Regions from separate parts of the Homo sapiens genome. Here region 1 is linked to region 2. The links are contacts of gene promoters, found by promoter capture Hi-C in human tissues and cell types (Jung and others, 2019). All regions are on one chromosome and are shown on one strand. The core of a region is centred on a gene start or on the middle of the fragment in contact, and the rest is flanking DNA. Distances in the headings are between cores, read along the strand shown.

Region 1 (3,704 bases), core at 527-3,026, 140 kb before region 2:
AACAATGTCCAATTTGCACTGCTGGAAAAACATGCTTTGTTTTGTCAGGGTTTGGAGGTTGGAGGCTGCTGGTCTATAAGGAAGAGAGAAAGGCAGAAGAGAGAGAGATGACATCACCGACTCCCCTTATGGCCTTGGTATTTGCGTCACCCACAGGAAACTCAGGCAATGAGCATTCCCTGGCCCAAGGACAAGTGCCTAGAGGAGCAGCAACAGAGGGAAGTTCCCCCCAATTCCCTCTTCCGTGAAAGAAAAATAAATCTTGGGACCCCCAAATCACTAAGCTAAAGGGAAAAGTCAAGCTGGGAACTGCTTAGGGCAATCCAGCCTCCCATTCTATTCAAAGTCATCCCTCTGAGGGTCACCTGAGACAAATGTATATCTGATTGCTTCCTCTCCCCTATTGTTTATGTAAAAATACAGATTCACTGAGCCAGACTAAATTGTATATTTAGTGGAAGACTGACAAAGGACTCAGAAGAATGCAACCTTTTGTCTCTTATCTACTCCTAACCTGGAAGCCCCCACTTTGAGTTGTCCCAAATTACTGGACCCAACCAACGTACATCTTACACATATTGATTAATGTCTCATGTCTCTCTAAAACGTATAAAAGCAAACTGTACCCCCAACCACCTTGGGCCCATGTCTCAGGACTTCCAGAGACTGTGTCACAGGCACGTCCTTAACCTTGGCAAAATAAACTTTCTAATTTGACTGAGATCTGTCTCTGATATTTGGGATTCACATATCCAGACAGCTTTAAAACATTAATAAGCAGCAGTTTTGTTACTTTTGTTTGTTTTGAGATGCAGTCTCACTCTGTCACCCAGGCTGGAGTGCAGGAGCAGGATCTTGGCTCACTGCAACCTCCGCCTCCTGGGTTCAAGCAATTCTCCTGTCTCAGCCTCCCCAGTAGCTGGGATTACAGGCCCCCACCACCACACCTGGCTAATTTTTGTATTTTTAGTAGAGACGGGGGTTCGCCACGTTGGCCAGGCTGGTCTCAAACTCCTGACCTCAGGTGATCCGCCTGCCTTGGCCTCCAAAAGTGCTGGGATTACAGGCATGAGCCACCATGCCCAGACAATAAGCAGCAGTTTTAAAATGTAATCTCTAATGAAATGAGATGATGTCTGACATGTACTTCAAAATGATCAGGGGGACAGAAGTGGGGGGATATAGAAAAAAACAAGATTAGCCATGAGTTGGTCATTGTTAAAGGTGGGTGTTGAGGTACTGCCATTGTCCTTTGGTATCCATGGGGGATTGGGCCCAGGACACCCCTTGGATTCCATAATCCACAGATGCTCAAAAGTGCCTGATATAGTGGCCAGGTGCGGCAGCTCACGCCTGTAATCCTAGCACTTTAGGAGGCCGAGGCAGGCGGATCACCTGAGGTCAGGAGCTCGAGACCAGCCTGGCCAACATGGTGAAACGCTGTCTCTACTAAATGTATAAAAATTAGCCAGGCGTGGTGGTGGGCGCCTGTAATCCCAGCTACTCGGGAGGCTGAGGCAGGAGAATTGCTTGAACACAAGAGACAGAGCTTGCAGTGAGCCGACATGGACTGCACTCCAGCCTGGGTGACAGAGTGAGACTCCATCTCAAAAAAAAAAAAAAAAAAAAGGGCCTGATACACTTGTTATGCTATAATTTTATTTGTATTATTTTTAATTGTTGTATTACTATTTGGGGGAGGTGGTTTCTGAGTATTTTTGACCTGAGGTTGGTTGAATCTGTGGATTGGAACCTTCAGACATGGAAAGCCACTGTGCATGGAGAGTCATTGTACTTTTATTCTCTTGATTCATAAATAGGCTTAAATTATTTTTACAATAGGAAGTTTTAAAAATCATCTATGAAATTTATTTTCAAGTGTAAAATTTTCATAAAAACCAAGCAAGTATTCATTGAATTCAAAGCAAGTTTATTTTCGTTTATTTTTTGAGAGAAGGTCTCGCTGGCACCCAAGCTGGAGTGCAGTGGCATGATCTCAGCTCACTGCAGCCGCGGCCTCCCTCTGAACAGGTGACTCTCTCACCTCAGCCTCCCGAGTACCTGGAACTACACGCACATGCCACGACACCTGCTAATTTATTTATTTATTTATTTATTTATTTATTTATTTTTGAGAGAGAGTCTCGCTCTGTCACCCAGGCTGGCGTACAGTGGCGTGATCTCGGCTCACTGCAACCTCTGCCTCCTGGGTTCAAGCCATTCTCCTGCCTCAGCCTCCCAAGTAGCTAGGATTACAGGTGCGTGCCACCATGCCCAGCTAAATTCTCTAATTTTAGTAAAGACGGGGTTTCACCATGTTGGCCAAGCTGGTCTCAAACTCCTGACCTCAAGTAATCCACGCGCCTTGGCCTCCCAAAGTGCTGGGATTACAGGCGTGAGCCACTGCACTCAGCTGGGCTAATTTTTGTACATATATAGTTTTTTTTTTGTTTTTTTTTTTGTAGAGATGAGGTTTTGACATGTTGCCCAGGCTGGTCTCAACCTCCTGTGCTTGAGCAATCCACTCTCCTCAGCCTCCCAAAGTGCTGAGATAACAGGCGTGAGCCACCATGGCTGGCAGTTATTTTTCTTTAAGTCAAGAAAGACAGACAGACAGAAAGGGAAGGAAGGAAGGGAGGGAGGGAGGGAGGGAGGGAGGGAGGGAGGAAGGGGAAGGGGAAGGGAAGGGAAGGGAAGGAGAAGGAGAAGGAGAAGGAGGGGGAAGGGGGAAGGGGAAGGGGAAGGGGAAGAGGAAGGGGAAGGGAAGGGAAGGGAAGGAGAAGGAGAAGGGGGGGAAGGGGGAAGGGGAGAGAGAGGAAAGGAAAGGGAAAGGGAACAGGAAAGGGAAAGAGAAAGGGAAGGAAAAAGAAAATTTGCCACTCCACCTGAAAACCAGTATGTTCTGGAAAGGAGGCCATAGCTGGGCGGACCTGTGGAATAAGTGGTGCACAAAAAAAATGAGAATGCCCTGCCCTAAGTTAGATCTGTGAGTAACAAACAGTAACCATGGACTTCGGGTTAAACCCTTTGCTGAGGAGAACTCTACATCCTCAGTACCTCTCAGTACCTCATTAAAGGCAAATGAAATTTCCCTGTGCATTCCGCTGGCTATTTAAAAAAAAATGACAATACTTAAGAATCTCTGAGGATATGCCACATCTACAAAAGGGCATTCAGAAAGCCTGGAGCAGCTGGCATGAAAGGAATTACATAAGCTATTGGCTTGGTCATCGAGATCCTCCAGGAAAAACTCTTTTCCTATCAGGAACTCCCACTACACAAAGGAAGAGCAGACTGTCTCTCTTGAAGCAATTTTATTTCTCTCTCATTCAAACAATTATTAAGTGCTTGTGTGCTGCAGATACAAAGTCAATAAAACCTGGTCCCCGAGTGTCATCAGGGAGAGGGAGGAACCAACAGGAAACTCCAAGGTGTCTGGCGCACAGAGGAGCACTAACCCAGCCCAGGTAGAGATGGGAGAGGCAGTAAGAAGGTTTCTCATTTGAGCTTTGCAGGATCCACTGGACAAGCCAATGGGTGGGACAGGAAGAGGGATGGATGATGACAAGCAAAGAATGAGATGCCACAGAAATCTGTTGCATTCCAGCCAGCACAGTGGCCCTAGAATGAATTTTCTGTGCAGTGGGCCAGACTTCTTGATACAGCCCACCATGTAGAATGGAAACATCAAGTACAGCTGACCT
Region 2 (4,019 bases), core at 1,437-3,936:
AGAAGGAGCTCACACGTGAGACGGAGGGTGAGAGATATTTTATATAATTACACTAATTCGTACGAGCTGATGGCTGAGTTGGACTTTTTACCTCTTAATTTTTAGAACAAGCCTCCTCACTGACAGGAGCAAAATATTAGAGTGGAAAATATTGATGAGAAATCTCTCATCGATCTCATACTCATTGATTATTGACTAAAAAGTTAGCCTGAGACAAAAGAATGATCGTCCTGGAGAACCAACAAAGTTCCATCTTTCATAATGATTAGTAATAGCAAAGTTATTTTTGAGATATGTTAAATGTCAGGTACCAGGCTACACCTTTTATATACTTTGTGTTATTTAATCCCCATAAAATCTATAAGAAAAAGGAATTATTATTCCCATTTCACACACGAAGAAATAGAGGCTCAGAAAGCTGAAATAATTTGCCTAGGTCATACTTCATGTAAAGTGGCCAGCTTTAACCACAGCTCTTTGTGAGTCTAAGACCTATATTATTTTCTCCACAATTTGATTCCCCTTAAGAGAAAGAGATAATCGTTACTTCATTTGTTCATTCACTTATCCATAATTTAATAAATGTTCACTGAGTGATCATGTGCAGGCTTGGCCTGATTTTGCTGATACAGTGGCAAACGAATAGGCTCCTGCCTTACCTTCATGGAGGTTATAGCCTAATGGTATAGCTGGACCAGGAATCAAAGAAGTTCAGGTCTCTGAAGCGCAGCTGACACAGCATGTGCTGAGACTGATATTTGAAGGAGGCGAACAAAGATTACCGTTGACCTAGACCTTGACTATATATTATGCACAGTAAATACATACAACCTTGGTTAAGGCATTGACCTTTTAGCTTCATCAATTTTGAAATGAGTATAGTAATAATACATTTCTTGCCAAGTGGTTGTAATCTCAAATGAGAAAATGTGTGAAAGGCCTTGGCAAACTGTAAAATAGTCAACAAGGAGAAAAGGCCTTTTTTTTTTTTTTGAGAGATGGTCTCACTTTGTCACCCAGGCTGGAGTGCAGTGGCACAATCATGGCTCACTGCAGCCTCTGCCTACCAGGCTCAAGTGATCCTCCTGCCTCAGCCTCCGAAGTAGCCAGGACCACCGGTGTGCGTCACCATGGCCAGTTAATTTTCTTAATTTTTTGTAGAGACAAGGTCTTGCTGTGTTGCCCAGGCTGGTCTCAAGCTCCTGGCCTCTAGCGATTCTCCTGCCTCGGCCTCCTAAAGTGCTGGGATTACAGGCTTGAGACACGGTGCCTGGCTGGTCTTTTCTTTATGCTAAAAAAATTCAAACAGATGCTACATTAGAATAGTGCAATAAACACCCAGATGCCCATCAACCAGCTATGACAGTTATCAACTCATGGCCAATCATGCTTCATCTTTAGCCAGACCCTGATTACCCATTTTTTGGGAAGCAAATCTTTGACTGCCTATATTTTTATCCATATATATATATGTGTGTGTGTGTGTGTGTGTGTGTGTATACCTCAGTGAGTGTGTGTGTACCTCAGTGAGGGGATTCTTTTAAAAAATATAGCCACAAATACCATTATTACTCCTAAAAGCCTAAAAACAAAATTTACAGCAATTCCTTAATTTTATCAAATATTATAATTTGACTTAGTGGTTAAATTTCCCTGATTATCTCAAAAATTTTGAACTCAGTAGGTTTGAATTAGTATTTAGATAAGGTTCACATATTGCAGCTGGCTGCTATGTTTTTTTTTTTTTTTTTTTTTTCAGATGGAGTCTTGCTCTGTCCCCAGGCTGGAGTGCGGTGGCGCCATCTCGGCTCACTGCAAGCTCCACCTCCCGGATTCATGCCATTCTCCTGCCTCAGCCTCCCGAGTAGCTGGGACTACAGGCGCGTGCCACCACGCCGGGCTAATTTTTTGTATTTTTTAGTAGAGATGGGGTTTCACCGTGTTAGCCAGGATGGTCTCGATCTCCTGACCTCGTGATCCACCCGCCTCGGCCTCCCAAAGTGCTGGGATTACAGGCTTGAGCCACCGCGCCCGGCCTGCTATGTTGTTTTTTAATCTGTAAGTTTCTCCTTCATCTTCTTTTTGTTTTGGTTTTGCATTTTGTTCGATTACGGAACTGTAGAACAGTGGTTCTTAAACTTAAGTGTGGATTAGAATCATCTGGAGAGCTTGTGAAACCCTGGATTGCTGTGTCCAGTCCCCACGGATTCTGATTCCGTATTGTATTTCTCTTTTTTTTTTGAGACGGAGTCTTGCTCTGTCGCCGAGGCTGGAGTGCAGTGGCGGGATCTGGGCTCACTGAAACCTCCGCCTCCCAGGTTCAAACGATTCTCCTGCCTTGGCCTCCCGACTAGCTGGGACTACAAGCGCGCCATTACTGGGTCTTTGTGAGGATTAAATGAGATTTTAAAAAGTGAAGTGCTTAGCATAGTACTCTGGCACTTACCAAATGCCCAGCAAATTTGACTGTTATTTTTCAACCAAGAAATCATAAAGGGGTGCACGGTCTGTGGAAGGCCTTGAGTTTTGTGGAGTTTTGTGTTTTGCTGCGTTTTGACGTTAGCACAGGCAAGCAGCAGCGCCAAAGAAGTACCTGAAGAAAGGTGAAGAGCAACTCTCCTGGTCACTTCGTAAGTCAGCTCAAAATTCTGCCCCTTTAAGGAGGGCTCAGCCACGTGACCAACCGGGTCACATGGCCCGCGGGACAACATGGCTGCGCCCGCACTAGGGCTGGTGTGTGGACGTTGCCCTGAGCTGGGTCTCGTCCTCTTGCTGCTGCTGCTCTCGCTGCTGTGTGGAGCGGCAGGGAGCCAGGAGGCCGGGACCGGTGCGGGCGCGGGGTCCCTTGCGGGTTCTTGCGGCTGCGGCACGCCCCAGCGGCCTGGCGCCCATGGCAGTTCGGCAGCCGCTCACCGATACTCGCGGGAGGCTAACGCTCCGGGCCCCGTACCCGGAGAGCGGCAACTCGCGCACTCAAAGGTGCTCCATCGATTCCTCCGAGGCGGGTGGGGGCTGCTCGGTTCCTGGACGGGGTTGGAGTAGGCAAAGCAAGGCACTAGTAGGAAGGGAAGTAAAGGTTATAACCACACCCCAAATCGAGCACCTGCTGTTCCCGTATGAGGAGTTCCTTCTCCGTGCCTCACCGGAAGACTCCATTTAATTGACCATTAGGGAGTTTGGTTTGAGGGTTATTGTTACTTCTTTACCCCCTATTTCTTTCTCCCTCCAACCTGTTCTCTTAATGAGGATCTCATAATTTTAAGGCAATCAAATTATGGTTTAAATCACCATTTCCTCTCTTATTAACGGAATAAATTAGGATCCTGGGTCTCAGTATCTTCACCAGGGTTGTTGTATACTTATCTGTAGTCTCCTCGAGTACACTCTGCTTGAGGACAAGGGCTTGAATTGTTTATCCTGCTATTCTTAGCACTTTAGCACTTAGGAAGGGCTAAGCAAACTGTAGTTGTTTTATTGCTATTATTTATCTGTCTTGCTTAGCGCCTGTATGTGTTAGGTGCCGGGATATATAAATAACTTACTGGCCGGGCGCGGTGGCTCACATGCCTGTAATCCCAGCACTTTGGGAGGCCGAAGCGCGCGGATCACGAGGTCAGGAGTTCGAGACCAGCCTGGCCAACATGGCGAAACCCCGTCTCTACTAAAAATACAAAAATTAGCCGGGCGTGGTGGCGGGCGCCTGTAATCCCAGCTACTCGGGAGGCTGAGGCAGGAGAATTGCTGGAACCCGGGAGGCGGAGGTTGCAGTGAGCCGAGATCTTGCCACTGCACTCCAGCCTGGGCGACAGGGCGAGACTCCGTCTCGAAAAAAAAAAAGAAAGAAAGAAATAACTGTTACTTCAATCTGTCTGCCCGGTATTTTGCATATTGATGTGTTGTCGAAACAACTTATGGGTCTAAAGGTCAGGTCTTCTGACTCCTAAACTAGTGCTCCTTCTTGTTTACTTAGCAGACACTATCCTTTTCCCATTCCATTTTTCTTTCCTTTGGGTTAATCC

The links. Contacts are between HindIII fragments. The study calls those that stand out against the background at their distance.
Region 1: a fragment that was not itself captured here is called in contact with the fragment with the promoter of SUMF1 in region 2 in 1 of the 25 tissues and cell types used here (mesendoderm cells).

The regions. Positions count from the first base shown.
Region 1 is chr3:4,609,989-4,613,692 of GRCh38, reverse strand. All of the region lies in intron 4 of ITPR1 (inositol 1,4,5-trisphosphate receptor type 1), which reads right to left. Among named protein-coding and RNA genes, the nearest start is that of ITPR1, 120 kb to the right of the region's middle. The HindIII fragment of the contact is 6,185 bases long and covers 1-3,704 here.
Region 2 is chr3:4,465,936-4,469,954 of GRCh38, reverse strand. SUMF1 (sulfatase modifying factor 1) reads left to right here and starts at 2,686. Exons shown (of 9, transcript NM_182760.4): 1 at 2,686-2,979. The coding sequence starts at 2,710. LOC124909340 (a long non-coding RNA gene) reads right to left here and starts at 3,131. Exons shown (of 2, transcript XR_007095789.1): 1 at 2,447-3,131; 2 at 556-1,291. RefSeq lists an enhancer at 2,460-2,639 and a silencer at 2,810-2,989. The HindIII fragment of the contact is 11,378 bases long and covers 1-4,019 here.